Linked DNA regions of Homo sapiens: region 2 is linked to region 1. Evidence: promoter capture Hi-C in 16 types of primary human blood cells and fetal thymus (Javierre and others, 2016). All regions are on one chromosome and are shown on one strand. Each heading gives the region's core, a stretch centred on a gene start or on the middle of the fragment in contact. The rest is flanking DNA. Distances are from core to core; before and after follow the strand shown.

Evidence for each region. The method cuts DNA at HindIII sites, captures the fragments that hold promoters and counts their contacts. A CHiCAGO score of 5 or more calls a contact.
Region 2: a fragment that was not itself captured here is called in contact with the fragment with the promoter of BPNT2 in region 1 in 3 of 17 cell types (non-activated CD4 T cells, naive CD8 T cells and total CD8 T cells); the score reaches 13.1 in non-activated CD4 T cells.

The regions. Positions count from the first base shown.
Region 1 is chr8:56,991,211-56,996,688 of GRCh38, reverse strand. It overlaps BPNT2 (3'(2'), 5'-bisphosphate nucleotidase 2), which reads left to right and starts at 2,822. Exons shown (of 5, transcript NM_017813.5): 1 at 2,822-3,490. The coding sequence starts at 3,104. RefSeq lists a silencer at 2,706-3,265. The HindIII fragment of the contact is 2,693 bases long and covers 2,465-5,157 here.
Region 2 is chr8:63,164,362-63,169,839 of GRCh38, reverse strand. YTHDF3 (YTH N6-methyladenosine RNA binding protein F3) reads right to left here and starts at 1,219. Exons shown (of 5, transcript NM_152758.6): 1 at 939-1,219; 2 at 429-453. The coding sequence starts at 962. It overlaps YTHDF3-DT (YTHDF3 divergent transcript), which reads left to right and starts at 1,398. Exons shown (of 1, transcript NR_102684.1): 1 at 1,398-2,115. RefSeq lists a silencer at 617-856 and enhancers at 937-1,256, 1,457-1,676. The HindIII fragment of the contact is 1,313 bases long and covers 2,725-4,037 here.

The DNA.
Region 1 (5,478 bases), core at 1,573-4,072:
ATAAAAAACATTTTCCAGGGTAAATTTGAAGGTCAGGAGTCATTGAAAGGAACCAAAATGTCCTTAACATCTAAGATGCTAATAATGTTTCATAAACTGATATTATTTATTCTGTACACATGGAGACTATAAGGAAAACTGGTATTTGTAGGAAAGGTAGCAATATCCAGACATTTAGAAGAGGTCCTATGTCTGATGTAATCAGAACTAGTGTGGGCCAGTTAACTGAGAAAACTGCATTAAAGTGGAGAATTACAGAAAAAAACTAGACAGCTTAACAATTGAACCTAAAACAAGTAAAAATATATCCACTTGTCTATCTTTTAAGGCAGGGTTTTTCATTGGGTATAGTTTCTAGTTGCAGTTTCAAGTTGTCTTACTTGCATCAGCCTACATAATTATTTTGCTTTAATTTAAAAAGTTAACACATTTCCTTTTTTTTTCTTTTTTGTTTCTTTTTTTTTTTTTTTTTTTTTTTGAGACGGAGTCGGAGTCTCACTCTGTCGCCCAGGCTGGAGTGCGGTGGCGCGATCTCGGTTCACTGCAAGCTCCGCCTCCCGGTTTCATGCCATTTCTCGCCTCAGCCTCCCGAGTAGCTGGGACTACACGCGCCCGCCGCCACACCCGGCTAATTTTTTTGTATTTTTAGTACAGACGGGGTTTCACCGTGTTAGCCAGGATGGTCTCGATCTCCTGACCTCGTGATCCACTCACCTCGGCCTCCCAAAGTGCTGGGATTACAGGCATGAGCCACCGCGCCCGGCCTAAAAGTTAACACATTTAATTGTTTATTTCAAAATCTTGGGGAAAACAATTTTAAGAATAGATGTAGATTATGTTTTAGGAACAGACTGTCCACAATCTTAATATGAAAGCCATATAATTTTCATGTGTATGTATGCATTGTTTGAAGCTTCTGACAACTTGATACTAAAAAAACAAGTTTCTTTCAATCAAATTCCTATAAAGGTTTTCTGACATCACTGTACCACATGTAATTAATCAAATGTTTTCTTATTGTCATAACTTCTTTTGTCGATTAAATGTTATCTGTTAATACCCATTCTCTATGATCAATTATCACTTGAGTGCTAGAACGCCTCTTGGAGCTACAATCTTTCAAGTGACTCCTTCTTTCCACATACCTTGGCATTTTCTCCCTCAAGTCTTAAATCCCTTTTTTGCAGTAGAAATGCTCCAGAGCTTTTAGTATTTCCCTCAGTGGTATACTGTGTATACTGCCACACTGAATGTGACCCTATATTATTCTCCAATATCCTTGGAAAATATTATTCCGTTTATTTTGAGAAATCTCAGACTTCCCAATGATGCTTTTAATATTGACATGATTACTATCCAACTCATCTTTTTGCTGCTGTCATAGTGTAGGTTGGGGTGGTTCTGTTTAACTTAAACCTTTATATTTCAACCCTGATGTTTATCTTTATCCCTGGGATGGGTTTTGAGAATTACTCTGTGACATTCACTTTTAGATATTTGAAAGCAGCTTTGCTTCATTGCAAAGTTACTCTCAAAAGCTGACAAGAAAGGCAATGCTAGTTCTTTAAGTTCTGGTGCTGTCAATACTCTAGGGATTGTTCTTTCACTGATTTGTATTTGTACTTGATTTTGTGCTGTGATTCTGGCAGGGAAATCACAGTGCTTTTGTTGTATGTGTATAATCTGGCAGTGCTTTTGTTGTATGTGTATAATCACATGCAAATTCTAGGGATGCCCTGAACTCTAAGTAAGCGGTAAAGGTCAGGCTCTACATGACTTGCTTAGCAATGGATGTTTAGAAGTTTGGTATACTTGCAGTTTTTCAGGTGGTTAATTCTAAAGTCCACTTAAAACCAATGCTGTTTTGCTATGAACAGTAAAACAGGCTACATTTTAAGTTGATTTATATAGATATTTTAACATTTAAGAACAATACTATACATCTTAATATTCACTTTTAAGATTAAAGATAAACTCATGAATACTTATAAAGTATTCACTATCATTCTAGCTAAGATCGGTGTTATAGTAGAAGGTAGTTATTTCTGTCAAAATACTTCGAGAGCCTACGCTGACTCAAAGATTACATGTTCTAGACTGACCATCTCCGGATAACCTCTATTTTAAGTGGACTCTGTCAAGCAATTCCTCTTCTTAAGCTCTGGTAGGAGAGCCAGGCTCGAGTACCCTTGGAAATGAGAGAAGCCTGGTTTGCTTTCTTTCATTATGAAAAACCCGGATCAAGGCATGTTTTTCAGCTGCTTCGAGGATGGTTTATTCTGGCAGGTGGAGGAGAGAAACTCTATACACACATAAGCATTTAGGGCACGACAAAGATGTCAACAGAATGAAGAGCCAAGTACAATTCTTCCCCTCACCGCCCAGTTCCCCGTCCTGCCGGGAAGAGCGCGGAGAAGCGACTTAAAGGTACAGGCTGTCTACACCCCCGCTGGCTAAAAAAGCTTGCAAATCAATCTTTTAAAATGGTTTATTGTGTTTTCCTCCATTCCTCAATAATCTGAGAGTGATGAGAAGACTAGACTGTTACTGTGGGTTTATTACAGCCAGCCATAGTCGTACAATGGGATATTTAATTTAAACACCCACAAGGCACTCAGCACAGCACACTGTCCTGTGCGGATTGCTGCTCGCCACTTCCAGGAATACCTTCCCACCCAGACCAAGGAAGGCAGCTCAGTCCAGCGCCTCCTGTCCCGCCCCGCCCCGCCCCAAGGGGAGGTGCCCAGCTCTCCCCGCCCCTCGCCCTCGCCCTCGCCCCGCCCCGTCGCGTAACCCGGATACACACCCACGCTCCCCTTTCACCTCGCGGCCGTAGGCTAACGTGGAAGTCGGACCAGCCGGCCGGCGGAAGAACCTAGAGCGCGCTGCCTGGCGAGTCAGGCGCGCGGGGCGGCGTTGGTGGTCTTCGCGGCGCAACTCGGCCTTTCCTGGGAGGGAGTGATGGGGCGCACCGGGGCCGGGGAGCGGGCGCCAGTGTAGCCCGCGCGGCGCCTGGCCCGGAGCGCGGCGGCTGCGGCGGCGGCGGCGGCGGGCGCTGGAGGCCTGTGAGAGCCGCAGCCCGGAGCGCCCGGCTTCCCACGCCATGGCCCCCATGGGCATCCGCCTTTCCCCACTGGGGGTGGCAGTGTTTTGCCTGCTGGGGCTCGGCGTGCTCTACCACCTCTACTCGGGCTTCTTGGCCGGCCGCTTCAGCCTCTTCGGCCTGGGCGGCGAGCCTGGCGGCGGCGCGGCGGGGCCCGCGGCCGCGGCCGATGGGGGCACCGTGGACTTGCGCGAGATGCTGGCTGTGTCAGTGCTGGCCGCAGTCCGCGGCGGCGACGAGGTGAGGCGCGTCCGCGAGAGCAACGTCCTCCACGAGAAGTCCAAGGGGAAGACGCGCGAGGGAGCCGAGGACAAGATGACCAGCGGCGACGTGCTGTCCAACCGCAAGATGTTCTACCTGCTCAAGACCGCCTTCCCCAGCGTCCAGGTGGGAGCCCACGGGCGGAGCGCCCACTCGAGCCGGGTAGCGCGTCTCGGCCCGTCGACTCTTAACAGTATGGGATGTGGAGCTTCTGGTTCCATTTTGTAGATGTGGAAATTGAGACGCAGAAGTTAACGTGCACAAGGTCAGACAGACAGCAGAGGAGCTGGGTGAGGTTGCACGTAGTCTGACTCAGGGCCCGTGCCCTTTTGGCTCGTCCTGGGTCGGGTGTGCGCCGTGTGTACCTGGGATCAGAAGGCCTTGAAACGAAAAGGCTGACAAAGTTAATTGCACCCGCAGCTTCAGGCTCCTCTGTAGAATTAAGGGGTTGGCTAAAATCCACCAAGACTCTCTATCCTTCCTTGATTTCATCCCTAGAAGGGTCGAAACTGGAGTACACATTTTCTGGGTGGCCTGCCAGTAGCCAGCTGAAAGACCGAGTCTTGTTGCAGAGCTGTTAGTGTGCGGGGCATTTGTGTGTGCGTGTGTGCGCTCGCGGGAGTCGGGGTGGGGGGGTGGGGGATGAGTATGCTCATTTCGCTGTCTTTTTGTCAGGACGCTCTAAAGTTTATAGTTTGCGGGCCCTTTAAGGAGGTACTTAGAAATATACCAGCTGTTGGTCCTACCTGGCCCTTGATTAAAGATCCATATTTACTCCAGAGAATAAGAATTAAATAACATTTGGCTTTTCTTTGGGTAGGTTTCTGGGAAGGGAGTTGACATTTTCTTAAGGAAATCCAGACATTTTGGATTTGTTATTAATACTTTTTGAATTCATCATTTCACTGGAGCTGCTATTGAGTTGAATAAAGCATATTTAAAATTTGCAGTTCCAGAAACTGCAAATTTTGTTGAGGAAGAGCTCAGCATAGCGTAGCAGCACCTTATTAACGTATATCTTAACTCACCTAACTGTAGTTTTGGCTACTGGGAAGAAAAATTGTCTTCACTGGAATTTTATTAGATAAACAGTGATGTGCAAACCCAGGCTTCTTTGGAAGGTGACTGACCTTTTACTGCTGATCTTGAAAGAGTTAGGAGAATATTGTCATTGTTTAGTTATGTATTTTGCATAAGGCTTCTTCCAGTCTATCATAATATTGCTTTGGTTTTGTTTTTTATTCTCCTCTCTTCCTCCCTTTTCTTTCGTCTTTTTCTTTTTCCAGTGGAAAGGAACATTGTATTTCCTAACATGAGCTACTGGATACCAGATGTAATTAACGTTAGAATTTTTTTTTTCAAATTTCTACTTAAAACACAGAATATTTCCACTTTTTCTTCTTCCCTACTCTGTTTTTATCATCACAAATAATACTTAAATTTTTTTGCATCTAGATGTAAGGTGTGTTTATGAAATATTTTACCCCCTTTCCAAAACATACGTGTTTCCTTCCCCAAGAATTTATAGAGGAAACAGGAGATTCAGAGAAGTTGCTATTTAATGGTTATAACAGTACTAATAATAACCATTTATTGAATATATTTTACATGCCCAAATACTGGCTACACAGGACTTCATTTGATCCTTAACAGCAACTTTAAGAAGTAAATTTTATTTCTGCCTACTATACAAACGGGAAATCTGAGGCTCGTGACACTCCAGCTTATATGAACTATCCCACATTTTAGCTAGATTTTTAGAAGGCTATTTAAAACTTATAATTGTAGAAGCTTAAAAGCAGTAATAGTGAAATACAGCAAGCAGAGTTGATTTTTCTTTTTTTAAGTAAAAACAAAAGTATCTTAAATGTTGAAAACACATCTGTATGTGTGTGCATTCTCATTTATTAGCAAACAATAAGGGAATGGCTGCCAAGGGCAGTGAGCTGCATTTTATTAACATAAAAGCTAAGCTTTTGGAATTGCAGATGTTGAAGTCTCTGGCTTAATATAAAACAACTTCTTGTTTTCTTGTGACTATTTGAATGTTTGCATGTGCTTCTGTAGTATTCATGTTGGGTCATGACTGAAGGAATAGAAGAGGTTTGTGATCA
Region 2 (5,478 bases), core at 2,132-4,631, 6.2 Mb before region 1:
CAATTTTCATTAATGTGATGGAATACTATGTAGACTTCCATTTTCCAGTGTAATCCAGACATGTCAAACAAAATGTCCACTTTAAGAATATACTTGTCTATATACACATGTAGAAATTTTTTGTGGCATAAGTTACATAACACAGAAAAACTGGAAAACCAAAGAAATACCACCAGGTTCACACCAATACCTGCTTAACTGACAAGGAAACTGTTTCTCGTACTACTTTGGTTTCTATAAAGTGGCTTCAAAGCAACGAACTACCGAAGTTCTGGATAGAACTTGGCTACCTTAGCCATGATGAATATTTTCCCTAATCCTACATTTTTTCCCAAGAGGGAGCAAAAACAAACAAAATACCCTCACAGAGTTTAAAAGTAACATTAAGGCAACATTGAGCAATAAGAAAAAAAAAAATCCAAACTCACCTTTATTTCCTTGCCCTTTAGGTCTCTGTGTTGCAAGACGAAAGATGCGGTAAAGAGGAGAAAAAGGAAGAAAAGAAAAAGTGTGTTAATCAAAGGCATTATCAAAGACAAGTTATTTTAGACTATCCGCGTAGGAGTAAAAACCCACCATATCCTCCACAGCCACCAATTTCCCAACCACCCCCAGCCTTTAAACCTCCCACCCGCCACTCGGAATCCGTCTCCCAGAGCTCGCCCGGTCTCCGCCCCATGTCTGCCGCCCTCAGGATCTGTCCTAAGGCCCCTAAGACCGGTCCTTGCCCCCACCCGCCGCGGCACCGCGCCCGCCCGCCCGCAAGCTACGGGGCCAGGGCGCACGCCCCGGCCCGGGTAGCTACACCGCAGCAACTTGCGCCCGGGGCACCGTTATGGGGCCGGCAGCGGCGGCGACGGGGAGGAGCCGAAGCCCCGCGCGAGGGTGGAGCTCCGGGGCTCGGGCCTTCGCCAAGCCTGGGGCCTCTGCTCCCTCACCTGATCCACGCTAGTGGCTGACATTCTTCACCGCAACCCGAGAGCCGCCGCCGCCGCCGCTGCCTGGGCCTCTCCCCGTGCACTCACAGCAGTTGGCTGTCGCCCTTGGCCGAGTGATTGTTCCAGCCGCCGCCGCTGCCGCCGTTCGCTGAGAACCCAAAATGAGGGCCTCGCGCTCGGGAGTCGGAGGAAGAGGCCCGTCTTTTCCGCTTGCACGCTCCTCTTCCCCCTCTCGCTCTCTGCTTCTCGGGTCCACAATGGCGGACAGACTCCCTAGTCTCACTTCCGCTCCGAGCCTCCCTGACCTTCCGCTCTCCACTCTGACGTCCGCGCTCACCTCGCTCTTCCTCCCCCACCCTCCCGCCGCTGATCTTGGCTCCGCCTCCTCACCGCCACGTCACCGGAGACCGGACCCGCGCTCACGGCCGGTGGGCGCATGCGTCATGGAGGGAGCGCGTCGGGGCGTCAGCGAGCGCCAACTTTCAGCGTCTTTTCTGCGGCTTCCTTCTATCCCGCTCCGAGGCTGCAGGGCCCTGGCAGAGTGGCGTCAGCTGGAAGGCTGGCCAGAGCCGGATTTTGTTGCACTCCGGGCAGGAAGATGGCCGAGGCGGCGGCTGACGGAGATAGTAGTGCCTTGCTGAAGTCACGGCGGCCGGCGGCGCCCTCCTGGAGGCTGACGGGACGGAGGCAGGGAACTTCCCGGTGAGCCAGCCGGGCCTAGCAGGAGCCTTCGGCGGCTGCCCAAAGCCGTGGGGACGGCTGGCTGACTCAGCCGCTCTCTGGACGGAGTTGCTGGGTCCCCACAAGCCTGCCCGTGCAGCTGAAGTGGCAGGTTAGAGTTGTGGTACTCAAACTTAAGTCCAAGCAAACAGGAGGAGCACCGGCGCGGGTTCAGTCTTTCCAAACCCAGTTCAGCCGTAATCTCTGGAGTCAGACTTCGCCGCCCAATTCATGGATTTGTGCTTTTGACTCCGCTCTGATGTTTTTGAATGAATAAAGTTGCCTAGGATACTTAAGTATAGTTGCAGAGCGTCTTTTCGGCCCTGAAAAGAGGGAAAGTTTCCATTGAAAAAGTTCTTTATCACATATTGGCAAACCCAAAGTATGCCAATTTGCAACGTGTTGACATTTTCATTGAAATATCTACAATAAAGGCAAAGATTCCTTGTCTCAGTGATACAGAGTCCATGGAAGGAAATAATTTAAATGACCAAATACTTTCTGTACTTCAAAAACCATCAAATAAGTGATCATTTAGAAAGTAAAATTGTAGAATCATAAGATTAATTTTGTGGTTTACAGTGCAACAGTATCTTAGAAGCACTGAATAATAGAAAAACTTGAGAGGCCACTTTTCATGTAAATCACCAAGAGGCATTTTTAAGTTCTGGTTAGACAGTTTCCCTTGCCCTTCCATTCATTGCCACGGGTCCCAACCTAAGCACCCTTGCATTTCCCAAGACTCCCCCAACCCTTTCTGCTGTTGCTCTCAATGTCTCCCATCCTTCACTCCCAAACAGACCGTTTTAGTTTTAATGAGTTTGCTGGTACATGCTATGAGCCAGGAACTTGAGAGAGAATATACAAGAGGAGGCTTAAATCTTGCAAGCCTTGTCTTTGATCCTTAGTATCATGGCTTTGGAACCCAATCAATTCGAATTTAAATTCTAGTGGAGCAAGAATTAGTGTTATAATCTTGGTAAAGGCACTGAAACTTTCTAAGCTTTAGCTTCCTCATGAGTAAAATTAGGTCCTTCGTGTACAGTTCCTGACACAAAAGTAAGCTTTCAGCAAATTGTGGCTATATACAGGTAATGAATTGTTCCTTCGCTAAAAGATTCCCGGAAATAGTAATCGCTTACATTTATTGAGAACACATTATATGTCATGTTAATTCCCACAGCATCCTTGCAGAAGTGCCATTATAAAAACTGACACAGTGAGGTTAGGAAACACGCCACAAACAACACAGCTAGTCACTATGAGAGCCAGGATTTGAACTCAAGCAGTGTGACTCCCAAGTTCCCACTCTAATAACTACCATATAATACTGCCTAATGACATAATATTATGAGCTTCTATTCTCTTTCATTTTTGCTCAACAAACTTCTTTCTTTATGGCTTTTCTTCCTAGCAATAATACCTACCCTCAGATATAAACCTACTTAATTTAATATTAACAGACTTTTGAAGTACATCTGGGGACTACCTGAAACCATCTCCAATGCCTCCAGGAGTGTATTAGTCCGTTTTCATGCTGCTGATAAAGACATACCCGAGACTGAGAAGAGAAAGAGGGGTTAAATTGTGTTTAAAGTTCCACATGGCTGGGGAGGCCTCAGAATCACGGCAGGAGGCAAAAGCCACTTCTTACATGGAGGGCAGCAGGAGAAAATGAGGAAGAAGCAAAAGTGGGAAACCCCGATAAACCTATCAGATCTCATGAGACTTAATTCACTATAATGAGATTAGCATGGGAAATACCGGTCCCCATGATTCAATTACCTCCCCCTGGGTCCCTCCCACAACACGTGGGAATTCTGGGAGATAAATTCAAGTTGAGATTTGGGTGAGGACATAGCCAAACTATATCATTCTGCCCTGGCCCCTCCAAATCTCATTTCTTACATTTCAAAACCAATCATGCCTTCCCAACAGTACCCCAAAGTCTTAACTCATTTCAGCATTAACCCAAAAGTCTACAGTCCAAAGTCTCATCTGAGACAAGGCAAGTCCCTTTCGCCTATGAGCCTGTAAAATAAAAAGCAAGCCAGCTACTTCGTAGATACAAAGGGGGTACAGATATTGGGTAAATACAGCCATTCCAAATGGGAGAAATTGGCCAAAACAAAGGGGTTACAGGGCCCATGCAAAGGGCACTCAAATTTTAAAGCTCCAAAATGATCCCCTTTGACTCCAGGTCTCACATCCATGTCATGATGATGCAAGAGATGGGTTCCCATGGTCTTGGGCAAGGAGAATGGAGAGGATATTTTGAAAAATGTTGCCACAGAGCCTAGTTTCTAGGTAAAAATGCACTCTTCTAAAGAGCCACTAGGGTGTGTCAGTCTCCTGGAGCACACAGCACAGTGCAAAGCTTGGAAAGGAGAGGGCAGGCTGGATTTAAGGCCCCATTTTTCCCTCAGCCAACTTTGGTGTTTGTGTGTGCGTGTGTTGTTGTTATTTGTTGTTTTGTTGTTTAATTATAGCAACATGTTCTTGCTATGTTGCCCAGGCTGGTCTCCAACTCCTGGGCTCAAGGGATCCTCCCACCTTGGCCTCCCAAAGTGCTGAAATTACAGACAGTGAAGTTCCAGTCTGCACAACTGTAACTTCTGTATGATTACTTGTATCAGTTCAAATTAGGTTCAGCTACAAGTGGTATCAAGTTCAAAATAACAGGAGCCGAAGATAGAAATCTGTTTTTCTCATACAACAGCAGTCTGGATATACTCCAGGACTTGGGTTGCCATTGTATCAGATAATCCAGGCTTCTTCTAGTCTGTTGTTCCACCATCCTGTTATAAATAAAGTTTTGTTGCCACAAAAGAAGTAGCACTCGAATATAGAATTTACTTTTTAATTCTCAGCAAGGCAAGTTACTTCTACAGAAGGGTGCACCCTTACAGATGGAACAACGGTGAGCACAGACTTAGACAAGGGAAGGGAAGGGGTTCTATCCCTGACGCATGTGGCCCCTTCTGCTGTGTTGTTCCCCTATTGGCTAGGGTTAGACCGCACAGGCTAAACTAATTCTGACTGGCTAACTTAAAGAGACTGACAGGGTGAGTGGTTTGGCGGGAAAAATGGTTATGACAGAGCAGGTAATTGGAATGAGTCAGGGTGGAGTAGGTAATCAGAATGAGTCAGGATGGAGCAGGTAATCGAAAAAGGTTGCTTTATGAGGAAGTTAAGTTTAAAAGTAAAAGGCAAAGAATTGAACATACTGACATATTGATTCTTTGAAAAGAAATTTAGAACTCATATCTAACAATCCTCATTATGATACCTCTACCTGTGGCCCATGATGGCTGCTCAACTTCCAGCCATCCTAATCACATTCCCACCAGCAGAAAAACAAGGTTAAGAAAGCACATTGTTCTCCTTTAAGGACATTTTGTAGAAATTGCATTTTTCCCATTTGTATTAGTCTGTTTTTGCATCGCTACAGAGGAATACCCGAGACTGGGAAATTTATAAAGAAAAGAGGTTTCATTGACTTACTGTTCTGCAGGCTATTCAGGAAGCATGGTCCAGCATCTGCTTGGCTTCTGATGAGGCCTCAGAAAGCTTGCAATCATGGCAGAAGGCAAAGGGGGAGCTAGCTTACACATGACGAGAATGGATGCAAGAGTGAGATGGGGGAGGTGACACACACTTTTAAACAACCAGATCTTCTGTGAACTCAGAGAAAGAACTCAATCATCACCAAGGGGATGGTGCTAAACCATTCATGAAGGATCTGCCCCAGTGATCCAAATGCCTCTCCACCCTCAACATTGGGGATTACTTTTTTTTTTTTTTTTTTTGAGATGGAGTC